3 separate regions of the Homo sapiens genome follow, and all the other regions are linked to region 3. Evidence: promoter capture Hi-C in 16 types of primary human blood cells and fetal thymus (Javierre and others, 2016). All regions are on one chromosome and are shown on one strand. Each heading gives the region's core, a stretch centred on a gene start or on the middle of the fragment in contact. The rest is flanking DNA. Distances are from core to core; before and after follow the strand shown.

What was found. The method cuts DNA at HindIII sites, captures the fragments that hold promoters and counts their contacts. A CHiCAGO score of 5 or more calls a contact.
Region 1: a contact is called between a fragment that was not itself captured here and the fragment with the promoter of SLC1A4 in region 3, in 1 of 17 cell types (total B cells). The highest score is 6.2, in total B cells.
Region 2: a contact is called between a fragment that was not itself captured here and the fragment with the promoter of SLC1A4 in region 3, in 1 of 17 cell types (fetal thymus). The highest score is 5.5, in fetal thymus.

What each region holds. Positions count from the first base shown.
Region 1 is chr2:64,593,305-64,597,777 of GRCh38, forward strand. The region is part of intron 3 of LOC105374773 (a long non-coding RNA gene); the gene reads right to left. Among named protein-coding and RNA genes, the nearest start is that of LINC02579, 12 kb to the right of the region's middle. The HindIII fragment of the contact is 331 bases long and covers 1,102-1,432 here.
Region 2 is chr2:64,654,753-64,659,563 of GRCh38, forward strand. LOC124907776 reads left to right here. Exons shown (of 1, transcript XM_047446580.1): 1 at 1-471. Among named protein-coding and RNA genes, the nearest start is that of SERTAD2, 3.2 kb to the left of the region's middle. RefSeq lists an enhancer at 576-735 and a silencer at 4,723-4,772. The HindIII fragment of the contact is 2,199 bases long and covers 326-2,524 here.
Region 3 is chr2:64,986,804-64,991,237 of GRCh38, forward strand. SLC1A4 (solute carrier family 1 member 4) reads left to right here and starts at 2,596. Exons shown (of 8, transcript NM_003038.5): 1 at 2,596-3,367. The coding sequence starts at 2,841. RefSeq lists silencers at 1,906-2,605, 2,816-2,995 and an enhancer at 2,598-3,182. The HindIII fragment of the contact is 3,825 bases long and covers 1-3,761 here.

The sequences.
Region 1 (4,473 bases), core at 17-2,516, 390 kb before region 3:
CTTTCCAAGAATATATAAGCGTGAAATGAAGGTAGGCAGAAAAAGTCTAAAAATTTTAGAATATTAGATATTGCTTCAGCAAAAAGTCACATGACATTGCATCAGGAACAGGCAGTCAGCTGACAGTCGGCCTCATCCACTCTGGGAATGTGCCAGTGGAACTCCTGCACCTCTGTCATTGGCAGATTCCTGTGTTGCCAGGGGATTACACTGGCCATTGGAACGCTTGCCTGAGTGTAATGTAAGTATGGCCTGGAGTGACGGAGTGACAAGATGCCTATCCAGTCCATATCCCACCATTTCCCTAACTATTAAAAAAAAAAAAAAGTTTGGTCTTTTTCAGAGAAACTTTCTTTCAAAATAATCACAAGTTTTTAGTGTCCAGCAAACCTTTTGGGTGGAAAAAGATGACTCGGAAAATTCCTTAGCAGAATTTTTCATGTTTCAGTAATTGAAACATAAAGGGCTACTTCTATAGTACATTACAACTAAATTATAATGGCAAGTTTCACCAACCTAAGTTCACAGCCCACATGTTAACTGTGTTACCAAGAGAAAATTAATCAACTTCTCTGAGCCTGAATTATCCATAAAAATGGGAGTGATCCTACCTCATGAGGTTGATGTATTAAATAATGGATGTATTTAATAAGACATTTGTCACATGAGTAAACAGTCAGTGAGCGGTAGCCAGAGCATAGCATCAGGGAACTCCGTGAAAGCTCCTGGAGTCCCAGTAGGTTCAAGAAGCAGACACAGGAGAAAGGGTCACTAAATAATAATAGAGTCACTTGGCATTTTAAAATTAAGTGGGCCTTCGTTATGAAAGTGGCTTATTTTAATGACTCAGATATTTCATCTTATAACCACTTTTAGATAAGCCAGACTTTCCTTTTGTTGTTGTATTGGTCTTTGATGATTTCATAACAGGTACATTAATATTGGATCATCATAACTTAAAGTTAATGCTTCAGTACTGAAGACCAAAAGATGGTCAGCTTTGTGCCAGACCAGATTTAAACTATACAATAGCAGTGGCTGGCAGGAAGAGCTTTGAGCACCTTCTTGGGATCTCAGCTAAGGGGCAGCCTGTCGCTTACAAGCTTGTCTTGGTCATCAGCAGCTGCACATCTGTCTTAAAGTCAACCAGGAAGTTCCTGCAGAGTTAAGAGGGGAAGAAACTAAGTAGTAGGAGCCGCAAAAGGCCAAAGCCTACACTGGGGTTCAGCAAACAGCTTTGGGTCCTCTATGTCTTAAAACCAGCTCATTCATCCCGCAGCTTCATCCCACTGGATGCCCAAGTCCCGAGAGCCAGACATAATTCCCCAGGTTAATCCAAGCCAGACTGGGAAGCATGGGAGAAAACTTTCCTAAGTTGAGTCACATCAGTACTATTTTTATGAGTCGTCTTTTTTTTTTTTTTTAATAGAGAAGCTTGTTCTTCCCTCTTCATGATTGTGTTCTTTATGTAGAATTTGTCATCTTTTCATTCCTTCATGTTTATTGAATCAGTTAGGATTAGGCTTGGCTGTGAGTAACAAAAACCCAAAATACTGCATTTCATGTAGTAAGACTCATCCTTTTGTCACATTTTAACTTCTCTGAAATTGGAATGTGTCATACAATTGGATGGGTTGTCTTTAGTTGGCAGCAGTTTCTTTTTCTTAGCGACGTACTAAGTAATGCTACCTTACAACCAATGACAGAGTAGATGAAAATGGTAATGGTGGCTTAAACAGTGGAATTTTATTTCCCTCCTGTAAAATGCTGGAAGAAAACAGTCTGGGGCTGGTAAGGGGCTTCATATGATCACCTTCTGAAGTCCTTACTAGCTTGTTCCATCATTCTCAACACATGGTTTCTACCCTCTGGTCCAAGGTGGCCGTTAAGGTTATGGCCTTCCATGCCTATATTCCAGCCATCAGGGTAGAAAGAGTGAAGAAGGGATTCTCCTTCCCATTAAGGATACTTTCATTAGGGCATACACAGTATTTCCAGTTATAATCTATTGGCCAGAACTTCATTGCAGGTTCCTATCTAGCAGCAACAGAGGCTGGGAAATACCTCTATTCTGGGTGGCCATCTAAAAGATGGGGAACCTAGTTGTAAGGAAGAAGAGATCATATAGGGCAACCAGTAGTCTGAGCCACACCTATTTTTTATTTCTCAGCTCATAAACATACTTCCTTGAGATAAACTAATGCATAGAGAAATGAATTCCAAGATCATTTTCTCAGGCTGCAATGCCTCAGGCTAGATTTATTGCCTTCTTGATGCTTTTCCAAAAGGGAAAGGATCTATAGAGGGCAGTACAGGATTTCCTGGGACCATGGAGGAACAAGTGCTAAGACAAGTCCCGGGTGGAAGTAGGGGCAGCCTGATGAGATGAACACTGAATTGGAGTGGGAGTTGTGTGTTAAATACAGCCCTGTCACTAACCAGCTGTAAGATCTTCGATAAATCCCTTTTTTAAGCACCAGGTACTTCATAAAATGAGGGATTGGAGTCTATAGAATCAAAAACTAAGGTAGGAGAAAACCTTAAAGAATAGAATTTTAGGGCTGGAAGATCAGCTGGTCCAGTGCTTTCCAACTACTCCCAGGAGCCCCGCAGCAGTGCCAGGAGGCCTTGGCACCTACAGTCAGGGTGTGTCCAATAATAACACACTGGGCTTATATATTTAGGGAGGGGAAAGGTGATTGCAGAAGATTTCATGTAATAAAAACGTTCCATTGCTACCAAAAGTTGAAAACCAAAGATGACTCAATACTCATAGCTGAAGAAATGGAAGCCTAAATAAGAAAACTGACTGGCACATCATTACATATCTATAACCAGGGGCAGGACCTGAACCCAGTTTCCCTTACTCTTGGCTTTTTTGTTTATACCCTCCTGCATCCCCACCCCACCCCCAACCCCCGTCTGAATAGCTGGCTGGCCACCTTTTGCCTGAACATTTGCAGGGACACTGAGTGGGCTCAGGACTTCACCAGGAAGTCTCCTTGCCCACCTCCAATGCACACGTACACACACACACACACACACACACACACACACACACACGCTTGGCTGGCAGCACAGATTGCTAGGACCTTGAGCGGAAACCTGGTTTCTCATAACCGGTTGCTCATTGGTTCAAGTTACCTTCTCTCAAGCTGCAGGGATGAACCTAGACTCTTCCATGAATATCTGAAGATCACTACCATGCTCCTCCTCCTACCAAACCTCCCGTGATGACATGGTTTCCAGGCCTTTCTCACACACATTATTCTTTTCTGGACATTGTCCAGTTTGCCAAAGTTCCTCTTAAAATGTGCTCCCCTGACAGAGCCAGAGGCCATCTCTTCACTGGCATGGGGCTCAGGTTTATTTCAGACCCTACTTTTAATGTAGCCTAAAATTGCATTACCGTTTATGGCAACAATATTGCCTCTTTAGCTCAGTGTGTGAACAGCCTTTTACCCCTAACTGCCGTCAAACCAGATTTTTTTTCTCTCATCTCTCATCTCCTGGTGTCACTGAGTTTTTTGAGCCTAAAAGCACGGTTTTATATCGATCCTTTTTCAGGATTTTTTGTCAGCTTTAGACCATTGTTTCAGCCCGTTCATCCCATCAAATCTTCATTGTACCATCAACACACAGACTTGCCCTCCTTCCTCTGCTCTGTCATCCACAGATTGATAAACATCCTTCATAATCCAAATCACTCACACAAAATGTTGACCAGTAAAACATCCAGTGTGCCAGGAAGACCCTGGGTGCGGCTTCTCAACCCAGTGATGCCCACATTTCTTCATCTTGCCCACCAGTCATAAAAACAGGTGAAGCCTTGCCAAATCCAATCATGTTACACCTGTGGCATCTCATGGGCCATCCTGAGCATTTCTACAGATGCTCCCCAAAACCTCACGCAGCTTGAACATTTCTGTGATGCCCAGCATGGTGGCACACACCTGTAGTCCTGGTTACTCAGAAGGCCGAGGCAGGAGGATCACTGGAGCCCAGGAGTTCGAGACCAGCCTGAGCAACACAGTGAGACTCCTTTTTTTTTTTTTTTTTTGAGACGGAGTCTCACTCTGTTGCCCAGGCTGGAGTGCAGCGGCAAGATCTTGGTTCACTGCAACCTCCACCTCCTGGGTTCAAGCAATTCTCTTGCCTCAGCCTCCAGAGTAGCTGGGGTTACAGGTGCGTGCCACCACCCCCAGCTAATTTTTGTATTTTTAGTAGCGACAGGGTTTCACCATTGTGGTCAGGCTGGTCTTGAACTCCTGACTCATGATCCGCCTGCCTCGGCCTCCCTAAGTGCTGGGATTACAGGTGTGAGCTACCGTGCCTGGCTGAGATTCCATCTTTAAAAAAAAAAAAAAAAAATCTGACTAGTTCTCCAAAAGAAGCATAAGGATGATAAAACAAGTAGAAGATCAAATGACATCTACTCAGGATGGGAGATTAAGTGAGGATGATCCATATCAT
Region 2 (4,811 bases), core at 175-2,674, 330 kb before region 3:
TTTCACATTGATAGCCTTTCCCTCCCGTGGAGTAAGCTTATGCTTGGAACTACTTAAATTTACCAGGGAAATTTATACTAGTTGGAAGAGAATGTGTGTATGCCCAAATGGTGAGAATTTAAGAGCACTAGGGAAAGAGGCCAGATAGATGGTTCCACTGGAAAATTAATGATTATTTTAAAAATTACACGTGCATTCAGCGTCAAGATGTAAAAGGCAATGCAGGCAGGCACCTTAAAATTTTGGCTGCCACCCCAATCAATATCATTTCAGATCACTTTGGAGTTTAATGGTCCACTATACTAGTTGTATTTAAGAATAATAAAGCTTTAAGACCTAACATAAAGGCGATTGTAAGTCGTTAACATCAAGAGAAATTTAGACTTGTTTAAACTGTTCTGTAATGATTTGTTATCAATCAAATTGATGATCTCATCGAAATTAAACTTGTGCTGAAATGTTGATAGAGGAGACAACGCTTCTTGTTTTATCTTTAAGGAGGATGGAAAAGGTTTTTACTGGACCCTCAGTATAATTAAAGTCTTATACAGTATAACCTAAGCCAAAAGCTAATTATTTGTGGATATCTTTGCAAAGTCTCATTATAATGGCATTCAAAATGACATATTATGGAAGCTGTGCTCACCGGCCCTCTGCAGGTCTTGCTCAGTTTGCGCCTGAGTGGCATAACATTCAAACATTTTGCTGTGAAGCGAAGATATTTTTCATTTCCAGAGTTCTGCAGTTTAGAGAGGGCATTAACTACTAACAGTTTCCTAACCACCCACTCACTTATACTTTCAGTGCTCACTTTAAGGAAAAGCCATTGAAATAGAAGCTGCAATAATCTCTTCCTGTGATATCTTTGTAGAGGAGGCCAGAGGCATTAGCTCTGTTGAATTTAAGGTGAATTTAAACTGCTATTTGTGAATTTAAACTGCTATTCTTGAATTAAAGTAAGCAGGAAGTTACACTTGCAGAACTTTTGTGACACTTGGATATTTTCTAGCAAATAGATTACACCAAATGCAGTGTTTCTGTATAAAATAACAGGATTTAAGTCAAAGTGACAATTTTGTGTCACTAGGATAGACAGGATTCTGCTGAAGTCCATAAGGTCTGTATTCTGTACCTGCTCAAACAAAGGTTTGCGCTCTTAACGAGACCAGCAACCTGCGTTTTTGGAGTGAAATAGTTTCCATCTCTTTATACCTCTGAAGGCTGTAACATCTTATCAATGTACACATTACAAATAGCTCCCACTTCCCCCACTTTTAGAATCTGGCATCTTTGACCAAGAAGTTAAAGTGAGCTGGCAGTTTCAACAGCTGCCAATGTGGTTAACACCAGCTGGTTAACCCTCTCCCTCCCCTTATGCAACCCCCTACCCCAAGGCTGAGCCACACATAGGCCAGGACAGCAATCTCTACCCAGCCCTAGAAATTCAAGTCTATGAGGATAAGGAAAGGCACTTTCCACACTTCTGAAGTCAGCTCCCTTCAGTATGCAATGACATGATTTGAAATATTTATTCAATAAAATATTATTTCAAATCATGTCATTGAATAAGCAGTGTTTAGTGAATATGTAAATTTTGTTCTCACTCTTTGGGAGATTTAAAAGCCCATTTAAGGGCTGGGTGCAGTGGCTCACACCTGTAATCCCAGCAATTTGGGAGGCCTAGATAGAAGGATCACTTGAGGCCAGGAGTTGACCATTCTGGCCAACATAGCGACACCCCCATCGCCACAAAAAATGAAAAAATCAGCCCTGCATGGTGATGCATGCCTATAGTCTTAGCTACTAAGGAGGCTGAGATGGGAGGATTGTTTGAGCCCAGGAGTTCAAGGTTGCAGTGAGCAATGACCACACCACTGCATTCCAATGTAGGTGAGATCTTGTCTCAAAACAAAATCCCATTTAAAATAATCCTACTCTGAGGGCCTCATCCAGAATTTAGAAGATCTGCCTCTCACTTTCATATAACATAACTTTAGAACAGTTATAAGAAATTAGGCTAGTCATCCACATTTAACTACCAGGAACATATCTGTTTAGGGAGAAAAGAAACATTTCTTTTATAAGTATAGAACTGTGATGGTAAATTTTAAAAATGCTCCTGAGTTTAATTTCAGAGAAGTACTTCTCGGCATCATTTTGTAGTTCTGGGTACTAGTTTACACTTCACTGCTTCTCCTTTGAAAGTTTCTGTGCCCTCACATCTTATAGACTAGTACACTAGTGCACTAACTGAAGGCCACTTTTGGCACTTAATTAGCACACACCAAAAACACAAGGGGCAAACTGGGTATATAAACTGAGAAACAAAGACTTTACAACAGGTTTTGAACTTAATTTCATTTTTCCTTTGCTTTTATTAAATTTTTATCTTTCAGGTTCCACCTGAAATGCCAGTAATGATCATCCATCTATATACCTTGCAAATATTGGTCTTGGTTTTATGGCAAAAAAGATAAATGTTTCAGTTATTAAATGAATTGTATAGAGCCAGCTAGGCTAAATAAGCTTTTCATGGAAAATACGGAGATCCTAACTGTGGACTCATCATTCGGATAAATGAATATTGGAATAAGTCTTCAAAATAAAGTTCTGGAAGTCACATCACCTAACTGATTAGCAAGGAGTCAATAGAGGATACAATGATTTGGAAAAGTAAATACTCTCGCAAAGATGGCACAGGCAGATTCAGTCCTTTTCAGCCACTAACAATTTAAAACAATTCTATTGAAGCAGCAAGTGAACTCCTCTACTTCTGCAAACTTTTCTCCATCTCTTCTTCCACCTGCTTTTGTCATGGTTTTTTTCTGCTCCTCCCTGAAGTCACAATTCATAAAAGCAGAACTACAGCTCCAGTGAAGGCCCCTTTGCAAAGCTTTCCATGTTGTTACATTGAACTGCTTTGCAACGACTGCTTCTTACCTTCTGAGGGAGGTTTCACTTGTCTGTTAAAGATATACCTTTTTCTCTTTTAAAAATCTGACAATATGTAAATCTAAACCTGAAACACAATCTTCATGGCAATATTTAAAGAAAATGCTTTTAAAACCATTTCCTTTTTTTCTAGCACTTGGGGTCAGTCCCTTCGAACTATTACTGGAGAAGATGGCTTCTGTTAGGCATCAGCTTCCTTCCTATTCCATTTTCCACTGAATCTTCAAAAGCCTTGTGCAGTCTATCAAAATGCAAAGAACCTTCTTGGTGACTCTGACAACTCCAGGGTTCCCTCCTGTAGGGACACTACTCCACTAAGACTGGTGGTCACTTCTCAGAAACATCTCCCATCCCCAGCTCCCTACACAACACACATTGCCTCTACGCATCGACTATGTATTTATTCCTGTCTATAAGCCATCCATCATTCTTGAGAAGTTCCCACTCTTCTCAAGGCACTGAGCACACTTCTAGCTTCCACAGAAAATTTCAATGAATGTTAGAAATTGCACAGACCTTTCTTGCCCCCAGGAACCAGCCTGGTGACAGGAAAAGTCCTGGACTAGGAGTTTGAAGATCTTGTACACATTAATTACTTAACCATGATAAATCTATGACTTTTTAGTTTCTTAATTGACTGGTCACGGATTTAGGATCAGCACCAGTTCTCGTCAAAAGAGCACAGGGTTGTTGAGTTAGGTGATTTCAGGGCTAGCTCGTCAGCCACAGCGAGCAGGGAGGCCGAATCAGACCCTCTGCACTGGGCCTGCTTCGACACCTGGCAAAAAAAGGAACTTGGACTCAAAGATTTCAAGAGCCCCTCCCTAGAGCTAAGAGTCTATGAAACAGTGATTACACTGTCAATATCCTCATGGAGGAGTTTTAGGGCTAAAATGAGATAAAATGCTTTGGAAGCTGCTCAGCTTGTCTGGAAGAATATAAAACCAAGTTCATGTCCACATATTTCTAAATGAAAGGACTAGAAATACAAATAATGATAATGTGCTCTCTTCAATATGTTCTTTGAATTATTTTTTTAAGTCCAGAAGATGGACTTGAGCAGTTCTATCCATATTCTTCTAGATTTGTTACCCCTTAGGGTTCAAGTCACCCAGCTGTGAGACTGGGAATACCCCTACCCCCTAAGTTTGTATAGCAGCAGGCAATTTACAAGGGGCTTTTTTTTTTTTTTTTTTTTGAGACGTAGTCTTGCTCTTTGTTGCCCAGGCTGGAGTGCAATGGCACAATCTCGACTCACTGCAACCTCCGGCATCCTGGGTTCAAGTGATTCTCCTGCCTCAGCCTCCCAAGTAGCTGGGATTACAGGCATGCACCACCACACCTGGTTAATTTTGTATTTTTAGTAGAGACGGGGTTGCTCCATGTTGGTCAGGCTGGTCTCGAACTCCCATCTTCAGGTGATCTGCCCATCTCGGCCTCCCAAAGTGCTGGGATTACAGGCGTGAGCCACCGCGCCCGGCCACAAGGTGCTTTCATATGGATCCACTTGTTTGCTCTTCATAATACCTTCCCTGTGCCATAGGCAGGGCAGGTACTACTACCCACATTTCATAGAGGACTAAACAGAGGATCTGAGAAGGACCTACCAATGGAACTCTTTATCAAGCTGACTCCAGGGTCAAAGAAAGTCTGGATCTAACATTCACTGAAGCATTCTGTGGAAGCCAGGAGTGCTGAGCGTCTTGAGAAGAGCATACACTCCTCAGAAACAGCAGATGGTGCAGAGCCAGGAAATACAGAGTCAACGTGCAGAGACTAACAGGAGGGTAGTGCTGGGCTAGGAACTGGATGCTGCTTAGCTCCATCTCTCTACATGGGTCATGGAATAACAATTCTGT
Region 3 (4,434 bases), core at 1,346-3,845:
GTAACAGAAACTCCAATTTTTTAACTGGGTGGATGCCTGTGTAAAACAAAAATTACATTCCCTAACGTTTCTTGCAGAAAAGAATGGTCATTTGACTAAATTCTTATCGATGAAATATAAGAGAAATAATGTGTATGACTTTTAGGAAGTGTTTTTAAAGAGAGATGCCATGCCCTCATTGCTCTTTCTTTTCTGCTGGGTGAAAGCTGAACTTTATCCTAACATGTATATTACTCATTAGGAAGATTAGCCTGGGGCAAGGCAAAATACAGGATGGTTGGAACAAGAGGAGCATTGGAGGTGGGAAGACTAATTGGGAGAACATTTCAATAGCCCAGATAAGAAGTGAGGAAATAAGAACTGAGCCAGTGTGGTAGCAGTGGGAATAGATGGGATGGGCAGATGTGATAAATATTGTGAAAGGAATCTCTGTGGGACTTGGCAATTCATTAGATGAGAGAAGGCACCACAGAGGGAAGAATCAAAGTTCGCTTTGAAGTTTCACACAGAGGTGACTGGGTCATCAATTATGTTTTAACCGAAGGGATGAGCAGGTTTGAGGAAGGCAACCATGAGTTTGGTTTTGAACATTTTAGTTGGGACGCCTGCAGGATATTCAGGTGAAGATGTAAAACAGGCAGCCGAAGACTCATTTCTGGAGCATGATTTGAGAGTCTTTTGCATAAACGTGGTAGTCAAAACAAAGGGAAGGGCTGATTGGCAAAACACAGTGTGTGTCTGTAGGAATTACTCTTTCTTCAGTGCACATAGAGAAATGAACTGCATTCTGGAAAGCCAGATATAAATATGTGCAGCTCTTCATCTGACACTACCTCCCCCGCCCACCCCCCCCCCCCCCACACACAATCCTTACAAGTTCTAGCCAATAGCTGGCTGGCTCCAAGCAATAAAATACTCACTGTCTCAAAATTTGGACAGCTCCTTAAAGTTCCTTATGAAGGCATTTTGATTTGCACAAATATGTCATGACATGTTTTAAGATGACTCCTTTATAGCAAGAAATCTATAGTAAATTGCCTTCCTCCTTAATTGAGGTTAGCCACAATTAAGTCTTCCCTTGCCTGGCACAGTGGGTGGTGCCAGCTACCAAGGAGGATCCCATAAGCCCAGGAACTGGGAGACCAGCCTGGGCAACATAGCGAGACCTTGTCCCAGAAAGAGAGGAAAGAAAGGAAAGAAAGGGAAAGAAGGAAAGAAGGAAGGAAGGGAGGGAGGGAGGGAGGGGGGGAGGAAGGAAGGAAGGAAGGAAGGAAGGAAGGAAGGAAGGAAGGAAGGAAAAAGAAAAAACAAAAGACCACCCACGGAAGTCTTTAAAGAACAATTCACAAGCAGAATAAAAAAATATAAAAATATAATAACTGTGATACAGTAAAAAGACTCAGCAGAAGTTTCCCTTGTAACTCGCGTGGCCAAAGCAGATATCAAATAAAAGATGAAATAAACAGGAAATCCATAGAACGTGAACAATAAGGAACCGTTCAGGATGGCCAAACCGCCGTCTGCGCTGTTTTCTCGCCAGGGCTCAGGCCTGGGAACGGAAGAGGTTAAAATCCAGTGGCTTGTGTTTCAGCTTTGGTTACGTGGCAGAAACCAACTGGAAGTGGTGGCGTGAGAGCTCTGTTTCTTCTAGAAGAGCTTTGCGTCTTAAACGCCCATACCGCAGACAGCTGCCTGGCGGGCGACCCAGCCCCATCCTGATGGCCCCAGGACACAAGCCCAGGAGCGCCCCGGTGCGCGCGGTTCCGCGGCCCAGGGGCGCCGGGTTTGGTGGCACAGCGAGCCCCCTTTCTCTAGCGGTATGGCTGCGTTAGAGCCCTAATGAGCGCGTGCGAAGGCTCCCCTTATTCATCCATCCTCCGGTCCGTCCTTTGTCTCAAGGCCGGGGCCTTGCTGGGCACCATGGCGTGCTTTACCGCACAAGCCCCTGAGGACCCCTGGAAGAAGGGATCTTCCGCAGGAGGGGACGCGACGGCAGGACCGCCCCGGGCCCCCTCACCGCGCCCGGCCCCCTGGCGGGAGAGGCCGGCGAGCTCTGGAGAGGAGCGCGGGCCGCGCGGGGCGAAAGCGCCACCCGGGAGAGAGGGATCCTCCCCTCTCCTCCTCTCTTCTCCCCTCCCCTCCCTCCCCTCCCACAGTCCTCAGGAGGAGGAACGCCGCTGCGTTCTAAGTTCTCCCGGGCCCTCTGGCCCCGAGGACTCAGATCCCGGCCGCGGGAGAGGGCCCGGCAGGTGCCAAGGAGCCCGGGCGGTCCTTCAGCCCGCACTTCCCCGCGGTCGCCCGGAGCCGGCCTCCGTTAGCCGGGCGGGTAGGCGGCTATTGGCGCCAGGATTGGCCGGCGCCGCCCGCGCCCCCGCGGCCTCGGGTGGAGCCTCCCGCCCGGCCGCCCCCTGCGGCACCCGCGACACGGGTGGGGACCAGAGGCTCCCGGCGGCGGCTCCCGGCGGCGGCTCCCGGGCTGTGATTGGCCAGCGCCACAGGGGGCGGGACGGCGGGCGTGAAGTGAGCGGGCTGGGGCCGCTGGCGCGCCCTCCTACTTCCCCGTCTGCGTCCGCGTTCGCGGCTCCCGTTTGCATCATCTCCAGCCGGCGGCTGCTCCAGGGAGGCTGGGCGCGATCCTCTCCGCCCGCGGCTCCAACCCGCACTCTGCGCCTCTCCTCGCCTTTCTCGCACCTGCTCCTGCGCCAGGCCCGGAGACCCCCGGGGCGGCTTCCCAGAACCTGCGGAGCACAACTGGCCGACCGACCCATTCATTGGGAACCCCGTCTTTTGCCAGAGCCCACGTCCCCTGCCACCTCTAGCTCGGAGCGGCGTGTAGCGCCATGGAGAAGAGCAACGAGACCAACGGCTACCTTGACAGCGCTCAGGCGGGGCCTGCGGCCGGGCCCGGAGCTCCGGGGACCGCGGCGGGACGCGCACGGCGTTGCGCGGGCTTCCTGCGGCGCCAAGCGCTGGTGCTGCTCACCGTGTCCGGGGTGCTGGCGGGCGCGGGCCTGGGCGCGGCGTTGCGCGGGCTCAGCCTGAGCCGCACGCAGGTCACCTACCTGGCCTTCCCCGGCGAGATGCTGCTCCGCATGCTGCGCATGATCATCCTGCCGCTGGTGGTCTGCAGCCTGGTGTCGGGCGCCGCCTCGCTCGATGCCAGCTGCCTCGGGCGTCTGGGCGGCATCGCTGTCGCCTACTTTGGCCTCACCACACTGAGTGCCTCGGCGCTCGCCGTGGCCTTGGCGTTCATCATCAAGCCAGGATCCGGTGCGCAGACCCTTCAGTCCAGCGACCTGGGGCTGGAGGACTCGGGGCCTCCTCCTGTCCCCAAAGAGACGGTGGACTCTTTCCTCGACCTGGCCAGGTAACACTCTCCACCTCTCCCAGGGCCCAGTGGGAGACGCCAGTTCTCGGATGCCCTCCAGTTCATACACCCATATGCTTATACACTCCTAAGAGTTAATTCTTAGCTGGCTGCTGGTGGCGTTTAACGTTTTAAAAATATCAAAATGACGTCTGGAGTTTTTGCGTGCTGACCACACCTTTGCAAACAGCTGGGGCGCACCGCACAATCGAAAGAGCAGGGCCGCATCTTTGAGCAAGAACCAGTCCCCACCGTTAGGTGGGCGTTTGTTAGGGAAGAGCCAGCCGCCCCGCCTGTTCTTTACTCCTTATACTCTCGCGCTGCTCTCCCCGGTAAAAATGTTCCGACCACGCCCCAGTGGCTTCGCCTCATTTTCTCCCACATGGTGCCTAAAAGCTTCTGGGAGCATTGGTTAAGTTTTGCCTCTTGGGTCATCCGGCTTGCAATCTATGGCCTTCTCTGTTACAGTCCTTGGCTGCGAAGGAAGCTGGCAATTTTCTGCAGTTATCAGTGGACCCACGGATAATAGGGCTGGGGTTAGTTGAGTGAGACATATTGCCCAGAAATATGCCTCTCCTGAGGGCTTGGGGCTTGGGACAGGTTGCTGTCCACCCCAGTAAAGACCACGGCAGAGTGCTGTGTTTCAAAGGCCTTTCTTTGTGCGAAAGTGTGAGTTCTAGAGGGGAGGGAGAGAAGCATCTTCACTTAGTTTTGCCTGCTTTTTGCAATTCTTAGAAGTTGCATTTCATCCTTTGAGATGATGTAGTATCCTTTCTGTGACTTATCCAAAACCTTGGTCTCTCCTGGTTTCTCCATTAGCCCAAAGTTCACAAATGGGGAAACTGCAGCCCGGAGGCATTTACTGATCTAACCAGGTTCAGTTGAGTGAGGAGTCCAGCTGGCTCCTTCTCCAGATTTCTGATGATTTTGGATTCTGAGCCTTGGAGTTATTAATATATTTTGTCTTGAGTTATTGAGGCAAAGCTCCTCATTGCTGAGGTTGTGAAAAACAGCAAACCCTGGGCAAAGTGACTTGCCTTTCCAACTGTTTCCATTTCTCCTTCTGG